Linked DNA regions of Homo sapiens: region 2 is linked to region 1. Evidence: promoter capture Hi-C in 16 types of primary human blood cells and fetal thymus (Javierre and others, 2016). All regions are on one chromosome and are shown on one strand. Each heading gives the region's core, a stretch centred on a gene start or on the middle of the fragment in contact. The rest is flanking DNA. Distances are from core to core; before and after follow the strand shown. Region 1 holds the start of PXDNL (peroxidasin like). Region 2 overlaps ST18 (ST18 C2H2C-type zinc finger transcription factor).

What was found. The method cuts DNA at HindIII sites, captures the fragments that hold promoters and counts their contacts. A CHiCAGO score of 5 or more calls a contact.
Region 2: a fragment that was not itself captured here is called in contact with the fragment with the promoter of PXDNL in region 1 in 1 of 17 cell types (fetal thymus); the score reaches 5.5 in fetal thymus.

The regions. Positions count from the first base shown.
Region 1 is chr8:51,804,406-51,810,858 of GRCh38, forward strand. It overlaps PXDNL (peroxidasin like), which reads right to left and starts at 5,040. Exons shown (of 23, transcript NM_144651.5): 1 at 4,776-5,040. The coding sequence starts at 4,939. RefSeq lists enhancers at 4,413-4,935, 4,936-5,457. The HindIII fragment of the contact is 1,936 bases long and covers 3,250-5,185 here.
Region 2 is chr8:52,399,629-52,406,081 of GRCh38, forward strand. The region is part of intron 2 of ST18 (ST18 C2H2C-type zinc finger transcription factor); the gene reads right to left. Among named protein-coding and RNA genes, the nearest start is that of ST18, 6.9 kb to the right of the region's middle. The HindIII fragment of the contact is 2,820 bases long and covers 1,711-4,530 here.

The DNA of each region.
Region 1 (6,453 bases), core at 3,790-6,289:
ATTTTGCTTTCACACTCTCCATGATTCAATTTTTTTTCTCCTCTTTTTCACTCATTTCACTGTCTTTGTTGCCCATCTAGTTGACAAACGAGGACATTCACCATCCCTTTTTACTCCATAAATACAGAAGCAGAATTGGTCCTTCTAACACCAGACTTGTACTGTCATTCAACTTTTCCCATGTGCAGTAGCTCTCCAACTAGCACAGGGACCACAGCTTTGCTGCCTCAGGTTGCGGCTACTCCCCACAAAGCTACTATTCCATAACACATCCCTTCACTTCATTTATAGAATCTACAGTAGGGTTGAAAGGCAGCACTTAGTGTAGGGAACACTGTTCTAATACTTTAATCAGCATATACCATCTAAGTACAGGCTGTTGTAGGATATCCTGGCTCCACTGACCTTCTAAAACAATTTGTCTGTCCATTTGTTTCTTGAAGGATGACTCCCAAGTCTCCAGGGTACATTATACCCCAGCCAGTGGTGCTGGCCTTTACTCCTCTACCTCCTCAAGCTGTCACCTCCACATTGTCCCTATGTCCATTCTCCTGCTTGGGCTCCATCCACACTCACCTGCCCTTCCTTCCAGAACAGCCTCTTCCAGCCCCTCTCCACAGAACCACACTGGCCTGAGTCAGGAGGTCAGTGACAGCCCACTTTCAGTTTCATTTCTCTCCCCAACAAGTCAACCACTGGGGGAAGTTTGAATGTTGACACACTTCATCTGGGTCCCACTGTGCTTCCCCTCAACAATGCCAGGTGGGGGAAGGTCCAAAAAGTTCAGGCCTGTTCATTACTGCCAAGTGGTCATTCAAAGCCAGTAAGTTATGTCGGTTACAAACAAGCTACAAAAAATTTTGTAACAAAGGTAAAAGTAAGCCCTATTAAGTTGTATTTTATATATACATATATATATTTTAAATTATACAATTTTATATATAAAACTTTATATATAATTTAAATTATAAAATTATGTTTGCTGCCTCAGATTGCAGCTACTCCCTATTATTCCATAACACATCATTTTATGTATATATACAAAATGATATATATATTATATATATATAAAATGAATGGAAATTGGAAGAGCTGAAGGAATTCTATTTTCTTCTTGAACAAGGTGAAATTTTTTATCAGCTGGACACACTTTTTCATGACTGAGCATAAGACATTTTCCATTTCCCCACCCCCATCTTGTTCCTCAAGTTTTCTATTATTTGGACAGCAAAGAAAGCTTTCCACATAAAGAAAATGTCTTTAAATTAAATGTTTAGAATTTCACATTGTAAATACTTTTGTATTTATGACTTTTAGGAAAATCCTCGATCATTAAAACAGCCCTAAGCTTAAAACTTTTTCTAATCAAGGTGGTTTTTAGAGCATGTTCAATTTGCAGTCACTGAGTCCATTTCTTAACCAGTAACTAAGGAAATTAGGAAAGTACAACCTAATGACCCTGGAATAGGATGGAGTCAAATCACACTCACCATACACTGCTTCTGATTACTGAACAGGCTCCCTAAAGATGCTGTGTTCATTACTGGACATTTTTTTGTTTGCAAATTCTAATTCTGAAAGATTTGTTTTACTAAAATCCACGGCACAAAGAGTGAGATTTTCTCAATGGCAGCAGGCTTTTTGGTAAATGATATTAGTTTAGAAACACAATATCTTTATAGTCAGAATGAAATTAAAATTTGGAGGGACAGTTTTGCATTTTTCTAAACTTAAAACCCTGATCAACTGTAACCAATCTTAAAAATAATACAGTTTTCTTATCTATGATTTAGGAAAATATTTTCTGCATTCAGGCTAAAATTTTAAAACATGTAAAAATGGAAAAAATTAAGGAAATTTTAACACTACTACTAATAAGCATTTACTAAGCATGTTGGCCATTTGCAGAGCTAAATATATTATTTACATCATTTCCATGTTATAATGACAATAAACATACATAAGGGCGGTTTAACAAAAACTATTGGTTCTGCTGCTGGGGAGAAATTCATTCAGCTTCCATTTGCCTTAGTTTTCAAAAACTAATTGGCTTTTTCCCATAATTGTTATTGTCATCTTTCATGATATTGCTGACATAAAATGCAATCCTACATCAAGGATTTTTAGCCCCAGAGGAGTAGAGGAGCAATTTTTACAGGCTTTACATATACTTCTCAGCTTTTATACCATTTCTCTACTAGAAGTCACAAACTGAAGGTCCTAGGCAAAAAGCAACCTACAAATATGCATGGTTGGGCTTGTATATTTTTGCCTTTCCATTTCTAAAAATGTAATTAGCTGCTAATATTGAAAAGCTAGGGAATGTCACTTTTGGCTTCCATATTTTCTTGAAACTATGGCCCAAATCCCCAAAGGCCATCAATTAGCTAAGTAACTGGCTGCCCCATTAGCAAGAGCTGCCTCTGCCTTCATTACCATCCCCACACACTCCAAGCTTCAGGCTAGTTGCTATTCATCACACAGTAGTCTGCCTTTCATCTACCCCACTTCCCTCAAATTGTTTACTGGCAGGTTCCCAGAGATATTTAGGTTTGTAATTCCTGTCCTGAATTGCAAACATGATACTAATAGTGAAAACTTCCATAGTGTTTACTAGAGCTAAGCAATTTTCTAGGTACTTAAAATGCATTAATTCATTAAATCTTCAAGATAACCAATAGGGTGAAGAGTGCATCAGTCTGTTTTCACACACTGTGATAAAGAAATACCTGAAACTGGGTAATTTACAAAGAAAAGAGGTTTAATTGGTTCATGGTTCTGCAGGCTGTACAAGAAGTACAGCAACTTTTGCTTGGCTTCTGGGGAGGCCTCAGGAAACTTACAATCATCGCAGAAGGCAAAGGGGGAGTGAGAACTTCACATGGCCAGAGCAAGAGGAAGAGAGACGCAAGAAGAGCTATATACTTTTAAACAACCTGATCTTGTGATACCTCACTCTCGCCATGACAACACCAAGGGAGGTGGTGTTAAACCATGAGAATCCGCCCCCACTATCCAATCACCTCCCACTGCACCCCACCTCCAACATTGGGAGTTACAATTGAACATGAGATTTGGGTGGGGACACAGATCCAAACCATATCAAACACTGTTAGCATCTCCATTTTTACAGATTAGGAAACTGTGACACCAAGAAGTTAAGAATTTGTCCAAGGCAACACATTTTGTAAGTGGTGGCACCAGACTCCCAGACAGGAATCTAGCCAAGGGCCTGAGAATCCACCATTAAGCTTTATTTTTAAACATAGTGGAAGGCTCTGCATGACAACACTGACAACATCACTTCAGTTCTGCTCATTACATTTAGAGGTGTGTGTCTAATGCAAGCTAATCTCTTCTTTGAAACACCTAGGAAACAAAATTTAGGTCGAGTTGTACCTCATGTAGCTCCAAGATACTTCATTAGACAAGCAGCCCCTTCTCCAAGGCTTTGCTGCTATCTACCAAAAAACTGTCATTACAAAAGGACAAATGGCTGGTTCTGAGTCTGAAGGCACTTGCAGAACTGTGCTGTCCACATAGCAATAAGCAGTGCTCCCAAGTTCAAGAATCCTTTCAGTTATTACAGTAAGACGTATTTTGATATCTGCATGCATATAAAATTAATGAAATGCTTTATAGAAATGAAAATCTATGGATAATATGTCATTTTCTATGTAAATACCATCAAATTGGACTTTTTATTACCAAGTCCTCATTTCACGATTATGACTGACAAATGTGTGGCAATGATCCTCTTAAACATTTATATCTCAAAATTCCAGGAATTTTAAGCTATTTCCCTCTGCCCAAGAATGGACTTGAAACACTGCAAGCAGTTTTGTCTTCCATGAACATGACACAACCCACAAAATATTTATTATAGAGCAGGAAACCTCTTTAGTCTGCATCTTTCAGCATTTTTCCTTTTCTTCTTTTATTTTTTCTTAAATTTTTGAATTTGTCGTCTTTTTCTTTCTTTAAAAATAGACCCTAGAAACAGATCCTTTTCTTCTTTTGTGGTGATTTGCCCTTCTAATTATCTAATTATGACTTAATTTAATCTAAATAAATCTAAATGTTTGGGTTTATTATCTGAATATTAAAGATGAGAAGATAGGATTTGAACTCAGACCTGTTTGACTTCCAAATTCTGGTTTGCCCTACTATCCCGTAATGCCTCCTAGATGCCGATTAGTCTAAGCGGCTGCTCCACAAGGCTTTTAAGCATTCAAGAACTCTACTGGACCATTTGAGGGTCTGTTCTGGAGACAGACAGTGCTTCAAGTGCTGAGGGCTCAGGACTTCACCCTCCCAGGAGGTACACACAGTACAAAGCCTAACAATTTGTCAGCACATAATCAATTGAAACCACACTCTAAAGTTAAATTAGTTCCTTCCAAATGGGGCAGACACGTGCTGACCAATTAAGAGGCCCAAAGACTTGGGAGTAGAGGATGAATAGGAATAAATTGAGAAAGTATGCAGGAAAATTATTGAAGGAAGAATGAAGACGAGAATTCTCAATGCTAAGTTCTGGAAGATGCTGGAAGAGAACTGAATCCAAAACAAATATATTTATGTCAACTCATCATTGCTTACATTTTCTAGTCTAACAGAGCAGAACCATGAAATTGTTTGAAAAGTGAAAAGCCTCTTCTAAGTATACAAGCAGGGAGAGCATTAGGAATCGTAAATTAAAAGGACACAGGTCCTAGCAGAGAAGCAATGAAGCATTGGGGAAGAGGGTTTCTGGGGAATTTATGTGAACTTACAGAACTGTGGTCTGCTGTGGTACCTGAGGAATGTGGTCCAGCATCAAGTGCATGCAGCGGACGGTGCTCTTAAAGCAAAGGCACCGGCTGGGGCAGGGCAACCCTGGCAGGCACCACCCGGCCAGGAGAAAGAGAGTGGTCCAGCAGAACAGTCTGGGCTCCATCGCTCCATTCGCTGCTGGCCACGCGAAGAAGCAGCCGGAGGGAGAGCAGCAGCTGCAGCTGCAGCAGCAACCGCAGTGGTGGTGATGGTGGCTGCTGGACTGAGCCAAGTTTGGGAGCCGTGGTGGAAAGCAGCTCCCAGGGAAAGGACACCCCTCTGACCAATCCAGGAGGAGGGATATCACATTACAGGGCTGAGGGCACAAGCAGCTCTAGGAAGCACTAGACTCCCAGAGGCGAGGACGAGAAGCTTTTCAATGCAAAAGCCTCTTTCTAAAACACCGTGTTTTAGGCAGCATAATGCAAACAAACTTTTCCAAAATTACTTCCACTGCGCATTTGATGAAAAACCCGACCTCTTAGCCTCCAGCTGTCCTCTTGAAGCCCAAGTTGATTAAGAATGTATTGAAACAATGCAGAACAGCTTTTCTTCTTTTTTATCTGGTAACATTACCAAACCCTAAAGGGCAGGCAGAGTTCTAATTCGTTCATCTAGGTGCACATATTCTTTCTTTATTCCAAACTATGCTCTTTAATAAAAATTGTTTCATTTCCTTCTATATATTCTGCTGCTGAAACCCAACACATTTCACTCATGTAAGACTCAAACGGGCTACTTCTGATTTCTTCTTTTAACGTTTAAATTTATATGCTTAAAACCATGAACTCACATACCTCCTTCAAGAGGATACAACTGATGGACAAACCTAAGTATGTATATGTAAAGTCAAACAGATGCAAGCTCCCTCAGGACACACTGGCAGCAGTGGTCTTGCTGGTTGCAGACTTTTCATCAGCAGTTTGAACTGGCCATCTTTCCCTGAAGTGAGCAGCACCTCGTTGAGGACGTGTCTGAAAACTTAATAAATATGAAAACATCTACTTTTTGGTCATTCTGTAAGCAGGTATTTTTAAACAGATTTTTGGCTTTATCTTTAAAGACTAACATTTTCAAACAAAAATGTTTTAAATCCATAAAAGTAATAGAAAACAAATTAAAACTTGCATGGTCAATCCCAGATGATCAGACTAGTAGACCAATCTTAAGAGGAAAATAAGTTCATCCTTGTCTCTGCAGAAATGTTTCAGTCCCTTTACATTCTACTGTAGGCGAATACTGCCCTCTTTTGGCAAAATGTTCATATCTAAATATGTGATTTTGGGGAGATTAAAATGTAAAAAGATCTAAAAAACAAAACTAATCTCCATGAACAAGAATGATTTATTTTAAACTTTACATTTGACATTGTTCACATGACTTTTATTGTCCAAGTATACCAATAAAGCCAAAAAACGAAATTTATTCCTTTAAATCCCAACAATCACTATGCTCTTGGCAGTGCCTGTGATTTGGAGGACATAGACAAGACCTGCAGGTTTGTGCCTTGTTTGCAGTTCAAAATATAAAATACAAAAAATATAAATAATATAAAATATATAAAATACAAAAATATAAAAATATCTTGCATTCATAAAGTAGACTTAAAAAGGGTAGGGACTCAGAAATATGTAAGTT
Region 2 (6,453 bases), core at 1,871-4,370, 590 kb after region 1:
GTTTCCATTGTCATTTTTCTCCAGATATTTTTAAATTTCCTTTTGACTTCTTCTTTAACCCATTTGTTGCTCAGGAACATGTTTAATCTCCACATATTTGCGAATTTTTCAAGATTCCTCCTGTTGTCGACTTCTAGTTTCATACTGTTGTGGTTGGAAAAAAATGGTACATATAATTTCAATCTTCTATGGGACTGACATAGGGGCTTTCCTGAAGAATGTTCTATGTGCACTAGAAAAGAATGTTTATTCTGCTGCTATTAGATTGAAAGTTCCATATATGTCTGTTAGGTCCATTTGGCCTAAAGTGAAGCTCAAATCCAGTGTTTCCTTATTAATTTTATGTCTGATTGATCTATCCATTGATGAAAGGGGGGTGTTGAAGTCCCCAGCTATTATTGTATTGCTATCTAGTTCTTCATTCATGTCCATCAATATTTGCTTTATATACTTAGGTATTCCAATGCTGGGTGCATATATATTTCCAATTGTTTTGTCTTCTTAATAGGTTAGCCCTTTTACCATTACATAATGACCTTCTTTGCTCTTACAACAGTTTTTAACTTGAAGTCTATTTATCTGCTATAAACAGCCATCTCTGCTCTTTCAGTTACTATTTGCATGGAATATCTTTTTTCACTCCCTTCACTTTCAGCCTGTGTATGTCCCTAAAGCTACAATGGGTCTCTTGTAGGCAGCATAAAGTTGGATGTTGGGTTTTTATTCATTTAGACACCCTCTGCCTTTTGATTGGAAAGTTTAATCCATTTACATTCAGTTATTATTGATAATAGTTACTATTGATAGGTATTGACTTAACTCTTGCCATTTTGTTAATTGTTTTCGGTTGTTTTGTAGATTCTTTTTCCTTTCTTCCTCTTTTGTTGTCTGCCTTTGTGATTTGTTGATTTTCTGTAGTGCTAAGCTTTGATTCCCTTTTCTTCCTTATTTGTGTATTTGTTATAGTTTTTTGCTTTGTGTACCATGGGGCTTACATAAAACATCTTATAGTTATAATTGATTATTATAAGATGATAACTACTTAACTTTGATCACATAAAAATACTCTAGACTTTTAACCTCTCCCCTGTCATCCACAATTTATGTTTTTGTTGTCACAATTTACATATTTTTATATCGCATATTTCTTAGCAACTTAATGTAGCCACAGTTATTTTTGACCATTTTGATGTTTAACCTTCATACTAGAGAGTTGAAAGATTTACACGCCACCACTACAGTAATTACATATTCTGAATTTGACAATAAATGTACCTCTACTGGCGAGTTTTATATTGTCATATGTTTTCATGATAGTAATCATCATCCTTTTGTTTCTGGTTAAACAATTCCCCTAAATATTTCTTATAAGGCAGGTCTAGTAGTGATAAATTTTCTTAGCTTTTGCTTCTCTGGCAAAGACTTTATTTCTCCTTTATTTTTGAAAGTCAGCACTACTAAGTGTAATATTCTTGGCTGACAGGTTTTTTTTCTTTCAGCACTTTTAAGTATATTTCTCCCTTCTCTTCTGGCTTGCAAGGTTTCTGCTGATAAATCTGCTGACAGTCTAATGGAGATTTCCTGATATGTCATTTGACATTTTTCTCTTGCTGCTTTTTAAATTCTCTCTGTGTCTTTGATTTCTGACATTTTTATTGTAATATGACTTGGTGGGGCCCTCTTTGGGTTGAACCTGTTTGGAGATCATTAAGCTTCATAAATCTGCATGTCCATTTTCTCCCAAGACTTGAGAATTTTTCAGCAACTCATTTGTTAAATAAGTTTTCCATGCCTTTCCCCTTCTTCTCCCTCTAACAACCCCATATTTAAATATTTTGTCACTTAATGAGTGTCTTATAAATCCCATAGGCTTTCCTCACTCTTTTTTCCTCCTGACTAGGTTATTTCAAAAGACTTCTTTTCAAGTTCAGAGATTCTTTCTTCTGCTTGATCTAGTCTGCTGTTGAAGCTGTCAATTTTAAAATTTTATTCATGGAGTTATTCAGCTATAAGATTTCTGTTTGGTTAGTTTTTATGATAGCTATCTCTTTGTGGACTTTCTCATTCAGATCATGAATTGTTTTCCTAATTTTGTTGCATTGTCTATCTGTATTCTCTTGTTTCCTTAAAATTATTAGGTTTAATTCCTTTTTAAGCAATTTCAATTTCTTTGTGGCCAGTTACTAGGGAATTATGGTCTTCCTTTTGTGGTGTCATGTTTCCTTGCTTTTTCATATTTCTTATGTCCCTATGTTGATGCCTGTGCATCCAGTGGAACAGTTGCCTCTTCTAATTTTATAGAGGGCTTTCATAGGGAAAGACTTTCGCCTGTAGATGAGTCCTAGAGTGTCAGGTCAGCAGAGTACTTGGCTCTGCTTCTGAGTGGGTGCAGTAATGTAGTCTCTGTGCAGCTTCTTCAGCTGTGATTAATATCAGCAATGACTGCAAGTACCTCAGTGTCTTCGGCTGTAGGAGTTTGTGGCAGTGGTGGTGGCATGGTAGTTTGTTAGGGTTCTTGGCAGCAAGGGCATTAGGGGTTCTCCTGTTGTCATTTTCCCCACAGTGGGCACACTTAGCTGAGGGGATCCCTGTTATTATCAGGTGTGACATGGGCCACAGGCAGCCATAGCATCACTGTGTTCAAGGGCACATGTGATTGGAATGGCTGTAGAACTGGGGTCCTGGGCTCAGTGTCTTGTTGAACTACTGTGGCACCTGTGATGTGGGCACAGGTCCATTCTCTGAGGCACAGGTGGATGCAGGTCTCCCACCAAGCCAAGGACTGTGACTCTAAGGCATTTCCCAGTAGCTTGGGCCCAGGGTTCAAGGATGTAGCTGTGACTCTAATCCTGGAGATCAGGGCACAGCATTGACATGGCTCCAGGGAAGAAGGGGTGTTCTAGACGCTCAGTCCCCAGAGAGCAGGCGACAGCTGCAATTCAGGTCTTAGAACCAATAGGGCACAGTGGCAACTCAGGCATCAGAAGTGGGGGTACTGCATAGTGATGACTATGGTCCCAGAGCAGTGGGATACAGCAGTAGGTCAGTCTCTGTGACGCCAGGTGCAGTGGCAGCAAGGACCCAAGAACAGTGGAGCACAGTTACTGCTTGGGCTCTGGGAAGCAGGTGCCACTTCTGGAGTCAATTCAGACTCCAGAGGGCTGGCCCAGACCCAGGAAGGTGGGGCACGGCAGCTGTTCAGCCCAGGGGTGGGGCAGCACAGCTCAGCCAAGGCTGTTTCTCTGGGGGCCAGTATACCACATCAGCTCAGCACTATGGGGTGTGGCTGCTCTGCTGGGCTGGGATCCAGGAACCTGAAGAGCACACTGCCATAAGGGCTTGGATACCAGGGATGTAACTGCTCCCCTAGACCAAAGTTCCAACTTCCTGGGGGTGGGACATTGGGCTGGTTCAGGCACTGAAGTGCATGCCTGCTCCACTGGGCCTTGGGTCCAAGTAGCTGGGGCTGGGGCACAGTAGCAACTTGGATGGGGGAAATGGGGTGGCTTCTAGGTAGCTTGTTCCCAGGGGGTATGGAGTTGCTGCAGCTCAGTTGGGGAATGTTGCACTACCATGTTTGAAAGCATGGTGCAATGGTGGCCAGGCCTCAGGGATAAACAGATACAGTGGCTACTGGACCCCCAAGCAGGACACACTCTAGCAGTGGCTCTGGTTTCCAGATGGCACAGTGCAGTAGCAGCTTGGCCTACAAGAGTTGAGGCACAATGTGGGCTCCTTCTTTGGAGCAGTGCAGCTATGTGAACTCCAGGCAGCTCCCCAAGCTGAGCTCAGGGACCTTGAGGACTGTAGAATTCTCCAGTGGTGAAGACTGCTGGTGTCCACAATGGTAATAGGGGCTGCTGGGTACCTCCTGCTTACCTTTTCCCCCCAGGAAGGAGTCCTTCCTGGTTCTGAGCTGAATAAGAGAATGGGGTGGCACAGGTGGGGTGGCAAGGGTGTGGCATGATTCCTCCTCTTCTGTATGAGCCCATACTTAGTGTTTGTGCTCCACTGGATTTCTGCCACTCCTGCTGTACTCCCGCACTCTTCTTCAGCCACTGTGGTCAAAATGTAGTTGTTTATTCATTGTTTATTCATTTTTTGTGGGGGTAGTCCAGGAAATGGGTGTTGGGCACTTTTAGTCAGCCATCTTGCTGATATCACTCCTCTCTAACTCTTAATATGATTGTAAGTAACTTAAACATCAGCAAAATTAATCATGCCTTGGTAAATTACAAACTATAAAGTAAAAAGAACAGAAACACTGGTGATCAGTTACCAGGCTTTTCCCTCCTAGCAGATACCAAACCTGGTCACTGATGGAAAGGGCTTCTGGTCTAACATTTGATGTAAATCTTCTAGTGGCTACCATTATATCTAAACAGCATAATAGTTTGATTTTTGGTTTGGCTACCAGATAAATCACACTGATTATCAATTCTGAATAAGATCTATTGCCGCCTTGCCATGAACAATGAAAAATAGTAAACATTTATGACAATCTCATAAAGGATAGTAATGCTGAAAGAAAGCTTTCTAAGCCACCATTAATTAAAAATAAATAAATTTGATTAACCACATTAGAAAAAGATTGGATTAGCTTTCCATTCTTTCTGTATAAAATATTATAAGAGCATTGTCAATAAAGGGCTTTTGAGAGAATTAAACGAGACAGCACATTCAAAGCACTGAGACCCATCCTGCACAGAGAAGGGCTCAGGTATTTGTTGGGAGAATTAATGACAAGCACTGCTGAGACAGAAGGAGTCGGGGCAGAGGGGCATTTCCAGGCCCAGGAGCACATGTTCACATCACTCCTTCCCCAGTCTCACAACAGACCTAAGATTTAAGAGATAGAGGGCAGGCCATGTGACGGATAAAGAAGGAAGGAGGAAAAGAAGGCTGAACCAGATGTAACCCAAACACCCAGCACTGTTTTCGGGAACTAACTTCAGCAAAAGGTGCAAAGCGGAGGTGTGGGGACATGGCCAGCAAGTCCCTCTTTCCCTCACTGCCCCCTGAGCATTCTGAGAAATTTAAAACTAACTCATGATTTGATATTTCTACCACTTCCCCATCTTTTCTCTCAAGCTGTAAGTATCAACTTATCTGAATTTTAACCAACGCTTTAGAAAAAGAAAACCTCCAAAATTCTAGTGGGGGTTTAATGCTCATACTGTTTTTCTATAAGATAAACAGTAAAAATATCTTTTTAAAAAAATTATTTTTTCCAGATGCTTCCAAGTACTCAAAACAACGTGCAGCCCATAACTTTAAGTTACCTTGTCCAGACCCACTTACTATTTAACCAGTCGATATGTTATCGCCTCAGAACTGTAATTATGTTTATGCCTTTTGAACAAGCTGATGAAAAGAAACATTTGCTTAAGGTTCCCATCAATGAATGCAGAGCTTAGATTAGTCTTTAGCTTATACAAACGTTATGCTTATTAATTCAGAATATTCATTCAGTTATTGAAACATGATGACAAAACTGTACAGTGAAAGACTGATTCTCTATTATACATATTAGCATTGCACAGAAATCCTTTGGCTCAGGAATAACTGTCCGAGACTCAGGATTCATATATCTCTTTGAATTTTTAAAACGGTGATTTAGGTATCAAAACTATAACATCAATGCTCTGAATACACAGATTATAAATTATCAAAATAAGTCCATTCTGATTAAGAACTCTCCAGCTGGATTTCAGCTTAAGAAATTCTAAAACTGCCTATGCGCAGTCCAGTCCACGCCAACAACCACAGCATCCTTTTTAATTAAAAGCCAGTGAGATGACTCATGCCACCTGTTTCATTGATCCTGCTATATTCCTATTTTGGTCAGAGTTCTCTTTTGAGGATTAAAACTTTTATGAAAACAAATAGCAAATATTTATTCAAATTGATTACTATTGTTTCACATCCTGACAACTACATTTCCTACTATAAAATTATATTTATCTGTATTAATTTTAATAACACAAGGATTATTCAAAGTGACAATCACAGTGGTAAATGTAGCTGTTGGAAGGGCTAGTAGCTAAAGCAACTATTATACACTTTCACATATCAATGAAATAGCCTTCCTAAAATTTGTTATAGACCCATAAAAGTAGATTCTTAAAAATCTGCCTACTTAGACACATTTCAATGGAATGTTTACATCTCAGTAATTATATTGAACAGAATGAAATATAACAAATCCAAGGAGAAAGGAATGGTGAGGGGTGGGGGAAGGGGTGGTCATCATGCTTTTATGACTGGATCCAGATGACATATCATTAATTGTTGAAGCTCTCTAGACTTTGAGTTCGACGTGGAGTTGATAGGGAGACTTCTGCAGAAGCCCTGTACTCAGACAGCAATCTGCTCCCACTTACAGAGCTCCATGAGTGGGATTTGCAGGCTGTCCATATTATATTGCCTTATTTGCCATCATTTTAGTCACTA